Linked DNA regions of Homo sapiens: region 1 is linked to region 2. Evidence: promoter capture Hi-C in 16 types of primary human blood cells and fetal thymus (Javierre and others, 2016). All regions are on one chromosome and are shown on one strand. Each heading gives the region's core, a stretch centred on a gene start or on the middle of the fragment in contact. The rest is flanking DNA. Distances are from core to core; before and after follow the strand shown.

The links. Contacts are between HindIII fragments. The CHiCAGO score rates a contact against its expected background, and 5 or more counts as called.
Region 1: a contact is called between a fragment that was not itself captured here and the fragment with the promoter of OPN1SW in region 2, in 1 of 17 cell types (M2 macrophages). The highest score is 5.4, in M2 macrophages.

What each region holds. Positions count from the first base shown.
Region 1 is chr7:129,086,718-129,091,772 of GRCh38, reverse strand. No RefSeq gene overlaps it. Among named protein-coding and RNA genes, the nearest start is that of TNPO3, 34 kb to the right of the region's middle. RefSeq lists an enhancer at 1,766-1,915. The HindIII fragment of the contact is 1,818 bases long and covers 1,786-3,603 here.
Region 2 is chr7:128,773,641-128,778,909 of GRCh38, reverse strand. OPN1SW (opsin 1, short wave sensitive) reads left to right here and starts at 3,116. Exons shown (of 5, transcript NM_001385125.1): 1 at 3,116-3,471; 2 at 3,756-3,924; 3 at 4,247-4,412; 4 at 5,022-5,261. The coding sequence starts at 3,129. RefSeq lists cis regulatory regions at 2,650-3,119, 2,020-3,119, 1-3,119, 1-3,119, 2,128-3,122 and 1 more. The HindIII fragment of the contact is 6,893 bases long and covers 1-5,269 here.

The DNA of each region.
Region 1 (5,055 bases), core at 1,445-3,944, 310 kb before region 2:
CCTTGGATCCAAGAAGAGCTTCCGGTCTTTGTTACAGTCAGCCCCTGGCGTCTGTTCCCCTAGCCAGGCGGAGTCCCGCTTTCTACCGCAAGAGGGCGATATGGCCACACTGAGCTGGGACCCAATTGCAGAATTGAGAGGAGTCGCTGTGGCCTGGGTTTAATCTGGCTTTGAGGGCTAGACCCCCGACTGGCCAAACCCTCCTCTGTCCCCTCCTGCCCCAAGCCAAGCTATGGAGAAACTGTGGAGCAGAAGAGCAGGGAGGCATTTCGCAAGTTGCATTTCATCTCTGGCGCATTGAAATTTAGGGCATGGGGTTGGGAAATTTGAGGGTGTTTTTTTTTCTTCCTGTGGTCTCATGGAGAATAAAATGTGCATTGCCTCTGCAAAGAGCTTGAAGACCAGGGCCAGGAATCAAAGTCCTTCTGGACCAGGGTCACGGGGGCTTTCAAAAGTGGAATGCTGGCCGGGCACGGTGGCTCACATCCGTAATCTCAGCACTTTGGGAGGTCGAGGCAGGCCGATTACTTGAGGTCAGGAGTTCAAGACCAGCCTGGCCAACATGGGGAAACCCTGTCTCTACTAAAAATACAAAAATTGGCCAGGCGTGGTGGTGGGTGCCCGTAATCCCAGTTACTCGGGAGGCTGAGGCAGGAGAATCGCTTGAACCTGGGAGGTGGAGGTTGCAGTGAGCAAAGATCCCACCACTGCACTCCAGCCTGGGCGACAGAGCGAGACTCCTTCTCAAAAAAAAGAAAAGAAAAGAAAAGAAAAGAAAAAAGAAATAAAGTAGAATATTGACACAATAGGCTTTTTAAAAAAACAAAATTTTCCCCACTGTTGAATGGTTTTCTCCTTCACTTTTCCTTTCCCAATGCTGCAGCCCACTTCTCTTCAACAACCTCACCTGAATCACACACATCAGAGCCAGAAGGGACCTAAAAGACCATTTGCTCCTGTGCTGCTCAAATTGTGCCCAATTGTCACTAGCACCAGAATCAGCTGTGCTTGTTAAAATGCAGATTCCAGGACCCTGACTCAGACGCCACTGGGTGGGTCAGAAACCTACATTTTAAATGGGCACGCACCCTCCTCCAGTATATACATGTGGTTATCCATGCGCACTAAATTTTGAGAAGTTCTTTAGTTCAGCTCTTTCCATTTACAAGGGAGGAACAAATCTCAGAGGTCAAGTGTCATGCCCAAGGTTATCCGGCAGAGTGGCAGCATCACTAGGACTGAAATCAAGACCCTGTACCCTGACCTCACATCAGGGTAAGTTTTTACTCCACGTTTCTGAGAGCCCTAGAGTTTTGAAGAGGTGCTTCAGAGGTTCTGCAAATATTTAATTGCAAAGTGACCTGTTTAAAAGAAAACAGAAATTTGGCATTTGCAACTTCTTATTATGTGAATCAGGATTTTAAAAAACCTTGTGGTTGCAAGGATCAGCCATCATGTTCATTTAATGTTATTGAGATCACTGCAAAAGTCCTACCTTTATTACTGGCTGACTTAGATAAAATAAACGGTTGAAATGCCACTTTTATTTATCTATTGGAATTCTTTTTAAAGTTTCATACGACAAAGCAATTCTACTGCTCTATATAAAATGTATTGGGCAATCACTAACTCTGCGAGCACAGTGTTAAGCACTGTGGAAATAAACAAAAACCACCCAAGTGAGAAGAAACAGAAGCTGTTTATTCAGCGCTTGCTTTAGCCAGGGTCTCAGCCACCATCACTCGCATTTGTCAGAGACTCAGGCAGGCAGGGCTGTGCAAAGCTTTATAGTGAAAAAAAGGGAAGTCTTCAGCTATGCCTTGATTGGAGCTTGTTGGCATGGGAAAGCTAGAGGTAGGCTGACTAGAAATTGAGCATCCAGTGTGATTGGATTGGGGACCATATTTGGCTTTCTGTGCTTGGTCCTGAGTTGGAAGTGGGGGCAGAAGTTAGGGCAGCTGCACTTACTGACTTGGTCAAGTTCTGACTGTTCTGGGATGATTGCTGCAGAGGCTGTGGTTTGGCTTCCTGGATGGGTTGCTGCAGAGGTTGTGGCCCAGAGTTCTATTGTCATATATGATCTGGCCATTGTCTGTTTGTATTTTCATTCTCTCAGCCTTATCTGCATTACTTCATCTAAGCCCTTTCACAACCCCATGAGATTGATAATATTATTATTTCAGCTTTGTGAATGAGAAATGGAATTGCAGAGAAGTTAGGTAACTTGGCCAAAGTCAGACAGTTATGAAGAGGTAAAGATAAAACTTGAACCTAGGCAGACTGACCTCAGAGCCCTGGGTTTCTGTCTCAGCTTTACAGGGAAAAAAAAATTATAGAAACTGACAAACTGTCTAAAAATTCCCATGAAAATGCAAAGGATCTAGATTAGCCAAAACATCTTTGAAAGAGAATAACAAAGTTGGAGGGCTAACACCACCTGATTTCAAGGCTTCATAAAAAATAATAGTCATCAAGATGAGGTGCTATTAACATCATGATAGACAGCTCAAATAGAACAGATCAAATGGAACAGAATAGAAAGTTCAGACACACATACACACACATATACAATTGATTTTTAAAAAGACCCAAAGGCAATGAGAAAGGATAATTTCTAATGAATAGTTTCAGTGAGTTGGGCTAGAACAGTTGGATAGCTATATGCAAAAAAAGAAAAAAAGAACTTCAATTCATACCTTATACCACGTATAAAAATTAAGTCAAAATCGATTATGCACCTAAGTGTAAAATCTAAAACTATAAAACTTCTAGAAAACATAGAAGTAAAATCTTTGTGACCTTTAATTAGATAATATGTCTTAGATATTACACTAAAAGCACAGTCAATAGGAAATAAATTTGATAAATTGGACTTCATCAAAATTAAAAACTTCTTTTCCTGAAAAGATGCCATGAGAAGAATGAAAAGACCAGCCACTGACTGGGAGAAAATATTTGCAAAGCCCATATCTGATAAAGGATGTGTATCCAGAATATATAAAGAACTTTGGAAATCAAATAAGAGCAAAGAATTCAACTTTTTTTCAAAAAGTAGGCAACAGATCTAAACAGTTATTTCACCAAAAAAATGGATGGCAAATAAGCACATGAAAAGATGTTCAACATTATTCACATTAAGGAAATATAAATTAAAATCACAATCAGAAACTACTGCATACCTATTAGATGTCTGATTAAAACCATGTGTTAATAAGAGTGCAGAGGAACTAGAACTCTCATACACTGTTGGTGGGAATGTAAAATGATAAAACCACTTTGGAAAACAGCTGATCAGTTTCTTAAAAAGTTAAACATACTTACCATATGATCTAGCCTTTCCACCTCTGTGTATTCACCCAAAAAAAGCACATATTCATACAAAGACTTGCACACAAATGTTCATAGTAGCTTTATTGTTTTCTTCCTCAACTTTATTGAGGCATAATTGACAAATAAAAATCATAGCAGCTCTTTTTTTAAGAGATAGGGTCTTGCTATGTTGCCCAGGCTGGACTCGAACTCCAGGGCTCTAGTGATCCTCCTGTCTCAGCCTCTCAGGTAACTGGGATTACAGGCAGGTGCCAGCACACCTGGCTTGAAGCTTTATTTTTTAATTTAATTTAATTTAATTTAATTTAATTTAATTTAATTTTTTGAGACGGAGTCTCACTCTGTCGCCTAGGCTGGAGTGCAGTGGCATTATTTTGGCTCACTGCAAGCTCCACCTCCTGGGTTCACGCCATTCTCCTGCCTCAGCCTCCCAAGTAGCTGGGACTACAGGTGCCGGCCACCATGCCCGGCTAATTTTTTGTATTTTTTAGTAGAGATGGGGTTTCACCGTGTTAGCCAGGATGGTCTTGATCTCCTGACCTTGTGATCTGCCTGCCCCGGCCTCCCAAAGTGCTGGGATTATAGGCGTGAGCCACCGCACCTGGCCTGAATTTTATTTTTTATTTTTATTATTATTTTTTATTTTTATTTTTATTTTTTGAGACGGAGTCTCGCTCTGTCGCCCAGGCTGGAGTGCAGTGGCGGGATCTCGGCTCACTGCAAGCTCCGCCTCCCGGGTTCACGCCATTCTCCTGCCTCAGCCTCCCAAGTAGCTGGGACTACAGGCGCCCGCCACTACGCCCGGCTAATTTTTTGTATTTTTAGTAGAGACGGGGTTTCACCGTTTTAGCCGGGATGGTCTCGATCTCCTGACCTTGTGATCCGCCCGCCTCGGCCTCCCAAAGTGCTGGGATTACAGGCGTGAGCCACCGCGCCCGGCCGAATTTTATTTTTTTTAGAGATAGTGTCTCGCTCTGTTGCTCAGGTTGGAGTACAGTGGCATGATCGTAGCTCACTGCAGCCTCAAAATCCTGGGCTTAAGTGATCTTCCCACCTCAGCCTCCTGTGTAGCTGGGATTACAGGTGCAAGCCACCATGCTGGGCTAATTTTTAAATTTTTTGTAGAGATGGGGTCTTGCTATATTGCCCAGGCTGGTCTCGAATTTCTGGCCTCAAGCCATCTTCCCATCTTGGCCTCCCAAAGTGCTGGGATTACAGGTGTGAGTACTTCACTGGTCTGCAGCTTTATTTTTAGTAGCCAAAAATAGGAGCCAATCCAATGACTCAATAAATGAATGGCTAGACAAACTGAAGTATATTCATATAATGGAATGACCTCAGTAAGTGAACATTTTTTCAGTAACAGCTTTATTGAGATATAATTCACATAGGTAAAAATTAGCCATTTTAAATATGTAATTTTGTAGTTTTTAGTATATGTACGGGTTGTGCAAACACCATCACAATCAATTTGAGAATATTTGTATTACCCCACAAAGAAATTCTGTACCCTTTAGCAGTCACCTTCATTGCCCCCAGCCACCCTCACTCTGACCTGGGCAACCACTAATCTACTTTCTGTCTCTATTTGCCAATTCTGGACATTTCACATAAAAATGGAATCAGGCTGGGCATGGTGGCTCACACCTATAATCCCAGCACTTTGGGAGGCCAAAGTGGGCGGATCACTTGAGGCCAGGAGTTCAAGCCCAGCCTGGCCAACAT
Region 2 (5,269 bases), core at 1,867-4,366:
CCTGCGGCCGAGTGTTTGTGTGGGATGTGCATGTGTGCGCATGCACATGAGAGTGGCGGTCTTTCGGAAATAATTAAGTCAGCTGGGCACAGTGGCTCATGCCTGTAATCCCAGCACTTCGGGAGGCCGAGGTGGTCAGATCACCTGAGGTCAGGAGTTTGAGAACAGCCTGGCCAAAATGGTGAAACCCTGTCTCTACTAAAAATGCAAAAATTAGCTGGGCATGGTGGCACAGACCTGTAATCCCAGCTACATGGGAGACTGAGGCAAGAGAATCACTTGAACCCAGGAGATGGAGGTTGCAGTGACCTGAGATTGGCTCAGATCCTACTGAGGAGATGCTGGAGACAGGAGAGAACTATTTTGTTTTGCTTCAGGTTTCATTGATTTTTCTCCATTCTTTATTCATTTTTAATTTCAATGTTTTCTGCTCTGCTTTTTAGTATCTGCCCCTATTTATTTTAGATTTGATTCACCCTTTCAGCTTCTCAAGGTGAAAGTTTAAATTTTAAACATTTATTGTCTAGTATAAATACTTAAAGCTATAAATTTTTCTCTAAGTACTGCTTTAGCTGACTCCTTCAATTTCTAATACTTTTTTGTTGTTATTCAGCTGAAATTCTTTCAGTTTTTCCTTATGATTTCTCTTTTGACTCACAGGATATTTAGATGTATATTGCTTATTCATAAGTGTTTGGGGGATTTTCCAGATATCTTTTTGTTATTGATCTATCTGTAAGTTCACTGATCCTTTCTTCTGCTGTCCAATCTGCTGTTCAGCCATCTAGTAAATTCTTCATTTGACATGTTGTAGTTTTCAGTTCTGGAATTTCCATTTGGCTATTTTATTTTTCCCATTCTTCTGCTGAGATCCATTAACTCACGATGATCATTTTTTTCCTTCCAGTTCTTGAATATATTTATATCGCTGTTTGAAGTTTTTCCTGCTGGTGCCAACTTCTTGGGTCATCTCAGGTTCTGTTTCTATTGCTTGCTTTTTCTTTTGGCTATGACTCATATTTTCCTGTGGGTTTTTTTTTTCTTTCACACGCCTTTTAATTTTTCATTGTATATTAGACATTGTAGATAGTGAACTTTAGAAACTGGGTTATCTTCCATTGAGGGGTGTTGATTTTTGTTCTAATAAGCAATTAACTTACTAGTTGATCACCTTGAACCCGCTGAGGCTTGGTTTTATCTTTTGCTAGTATGAGTCAGCTTTGGCTTTGACCTTACTCTCAGAACAAATATTTAGTCCTGGGATATAGATTTTAGCTCTATGGTGTGGCCTTTTGGGAGTTTCAAGTAGAAAGCCCTAAGTGTTTACCCAGACCCTCTGACTTGGGATTCAAATTCAAACTCTTTCTCTGCTACAGTGGGTAACAGTCAAAATCTGCTTAGCTCTTTCAGACCTCCAGTGGTTGTCTTTTACTGGGCTCTTGGAAATTCCTCCATCCACAGTTCAGCAGTCAGCCTATGATTTGAGGGGAGTTTATATGCAGATTTAAAGACTTTGCCTTCTGTGGCTTCTTTCATTCCAGGAAATCCACCTTCAGCTGTTCTGGAGTCCCAAACTGTCCTCTGTCTCCTGTCCTCTGTCCTCTGACTCTTCAAGCCAAAAAAGGCTGGGGCTTTCTGCTCAAGTTCTAGCTATCCTGTGCCATTTATACTCGGGAGTACACTCAGGGAAAAAAAAAAACAACAATGTAGATGGTTCTTTTCATTGAAGAGTTGAGTTCCTTTCAGTTTCTGCCTGCTTTGGATACTTTAGGTGTTTTCAAAAAGTTGTTTTTCATATTGTGTCCAGTTTACAATTTTTTTGCCTAAGGGGGCATTCATCTAATAAACTATTCTGCCATTACTGGACCATCCTTTCACTTTTAAACTTACTTATACCTAAAGTGTGTCACTTTTAACTCATCTATATATATAGTCTCGCTCTGTCCCACAGGCTGGAGTGCAGTGGCGTGATCTCGGCTCACTGCAGGCTCCGCCTCCCGGGTTCACGCCATTCTCCTGCCTCAGCCTCCCAAGTAGCTGGGACTACAGGCGCCCACCACCACACCCAGCTAATTTTTTGTATTTTTAGTAGAGACGGGGTTTCACCGTTAGCCAGGATGGTCTCGATCTCCTGACCTTGTGATCCACCCATCTCAGCCTCCCAAAGTGCTGGGATTACAGGCTTGAGCCACCACGCCCGGCCAACTCATCTATATATTTATGATCTGCTGAGGTGGAAAAGATTCATTCATAAAGCCTAAAGTGTAGTACTGAGTACAAGTGCAGGTGGAACTTAAAGCAGAGTTGGTGTCACTGGGGTGGGCTGCACAGAAGAGGTGTTTGTGAGGTAGGCTGTGAGGGCTAGATAAGACTTCAATGAACAGACAGGAGGAAGACTGTGGCGACTTGTTGAGCTAAGGGTAGGGGTAGGCATGAACATGGCGTAAGGACAGTGAACAGACCCACCTCCCTGGCTGGAGGTCTGAGTAGGAAAGGCACACTCTTTGAGTAGATTCAACACAAAGAAATGGAGGCAGCCTGGCTCAGGGATGCCCTAGACCTCTAGGCATTGTCAAGTTGCCTAAGTCCTGTTCCATCAAGGCTGTTTACTGATGTGCTTCCAGGGCACTCCCCACTCCCAGCCCTTTCCTGCAGCCCAGGGCTGGTTCCTAGCCTCTCAGCAGACTTAAGATGGGCACCTTCCACAAAGGGGCAGATGAGTTGAGGAAAACTTAACTGATACAGTTGTGCCAGAAGCCAAAATAAGAGGCGTGCCCTTTCTATAGCCCCATTAAAAGAACAAAAAAGTGGAAGCATCTTCAGTGAATATGGGTCAGCACCTCCCAGACCTCAGGGAGTCCACTTCTGTTCATCCCAGCACCCAGCATTGCATATCCAGATTATTTGAGCCCAATCTCTTATCCTCTGAAGAACACAATCGGCTTTGGGGCCACAAAAGGTTTAGGTAGTGGTTTAGGGATTTCTAATCCCAAACTTTGTCCTTGGGAGGTTTAGGATTAGTATTGATCATTCACAGAGCCCAAGTGTTTTTAGAGGAGGGGTTTTGTGGGGTGGGAGGATCACCTATAAGAGGACTCAGAGGGGGGTGTGGGGCATCCATGAGAAAAATGTCGGAGGAAGAGTTTTATCTGTTCAAAAATATCTCTTCAGTGGGGCCGTGGGATGGGCCTCAGTACCACATTGCCCCTGTCTGGGCCTTCTACCTCCAGGCAGCTTTCATGGGCACTGTCTTCCTTATAGGGTTCCCACTCAATGCCATGGTGCTGGTGGCCACACTGCGCTACAAAAAGTTGCGGCAGCCCCTCAACTACATTCTGGTCAACGTGTCCTTCGGAGGCTTCCTCCTCTGCATCTTCTCTGTCTTCCCTGTCTTCGTCGCCAGCTGTAACGGATACTTCGTCTTCGGTCGCCATGTTTGTGCTTTGGAGGGCTTCCTGGGCACTGTAGCAGGTACTGCAGGGGAAAAAGGGGTTAGGGGAAGGCAAAGGTTGCTACTCCACTGGAGGGGGTTCCTAAAGAGGAGTCTGGGGGAAATGAGTCTGGTGCTTTTTAAAATACTGGGGTACAAAGCAACCCAGACTAGAAGTTTGGCTAAAATAGGATGTTTGAGTCTTCACTCCAAATGTCAGTCCAGCCCTGTCTCTCTGTGCTTGCTCCACCCGATCTGTTTGCCACTCTGCCAGCCAGGCTGGGTGGGGCTCTGTCTAGCCCATTATCCTCACATTTCACCACAGGTCTGGTTACAGGATGGTCACTGGCCTTCCTGGCCTTTGAGCGCTACATTGTCATCTGTAAGCCCTTCGGCAACTTCCGCTTCAGCTCCAAGCATGCACTGACGGTGGTCCTGGCTACCTGGACCATTGGTATTGGCGTCTCCATCCCACCCTTCTTTGGCTGGAGCCGGTGAGAGTGCAGGGCAGTGGTGCTGAGTTAACTAGGAGCTCAGGTTGATGTGGGTGGAAAGAGAGCTTGGGTATAACTATTTAGTCTTTGACCTCTACTTTTAAAGAGTTGCAATATGAGGCGAAAGGGCAGTGGGAGACAAGTGCTAACGTTTACTCTGCAGTTGGAATTGCTGTAGCTTCTCCCAGTCAGGACAGAAAACCCCCCTGCTTGAAGCCTTAGGGCATTCCGTGGGTTCTAAGTGGAGAACACAATCCAGGCATCTCAGCTCCCACTGCACTCTTGTGGAGAGTCCAGTGAGCAAGTGTTTGGTCCTTTGCAGGTTCATCCCTGAGGGCCTGCAGTGTTCCTGTGGCCCTGACTGGTACACCGTGGGCACCAAATACCGCAGCGAGTCCTATACGTGGTTCCTCTTCATCTTCTGCTTCATTGTGCCTCTCTCCCTCATCTGCTTCTCCTACACTCAGCTGCTGAGGGCCCTGAAAGCTGTGAGTGGCATTTGATAGTCAGGGAAGAAGGGGTTCGGGGCTCCACATGAGAAGGAAGAGTGCTCTGAAACATAAGATGCCTGGAAATGTCCATAGCCAGAGAGGGTATCTAAAAGCAGCAAAGGAAGTAGGAGGAGGGAGAATGATGGAGATCCAAAGGAACTAGGCCAGGAGATGGGACAGAAAAGAGGCAATCAGAGTGGATGCCCCCTCCCCCATCCCACAGAAAAGCATCCAGAGACCGGGCGCAGTGGCTCACGCCTATAATCCCAGCACTTTGGGAGGCCGAAGCAGACGGATCACCTGAGGTCAATAGTTCCAGACCAGCCTGGCCTACATGGCAAAATGCTAAAATGCGAAAATTAGCTGGGCATGGTGGTGTGTGCTTGTAACCCCAGCTACTCAGGAGGCTGAGACAAAAGAATCACTTGAACCCGGGAGGTGGAGGTTCAGTGAGCCGAGACTGCACCACTGCAACTCCAGCCTGGGCAACAGAGCGAGACTCGGTCTCAAAAAGAAAATTAAAAATTAAAAATTAAAAAAAAAAAAAAAAAGCATCCAGAGGGCCAGGAAAAAGAGAGATGTGATGCTTTCCGTGCTCCACCCCAGGTTGCAGCTCAGCAGCAGGAGTCAGCTACGACCCAGAAGGCTGAACGGGAGGTGAGCCGCATGGTGGTTGTGATGGTAGGATCCTTCTGTGTCTGCTACGTGCCCTACGCGGCCTTCGCCATGTACATGGTCAACAACCGTAACCATGGGCTGGACTTACGGCTTGTCACCATTCCTTCATTCTTCTCCAAGAGTGCTTGCATCTACAATCCCATCATCTACTGCTTCATGAATAAGCAGGTAAAGCT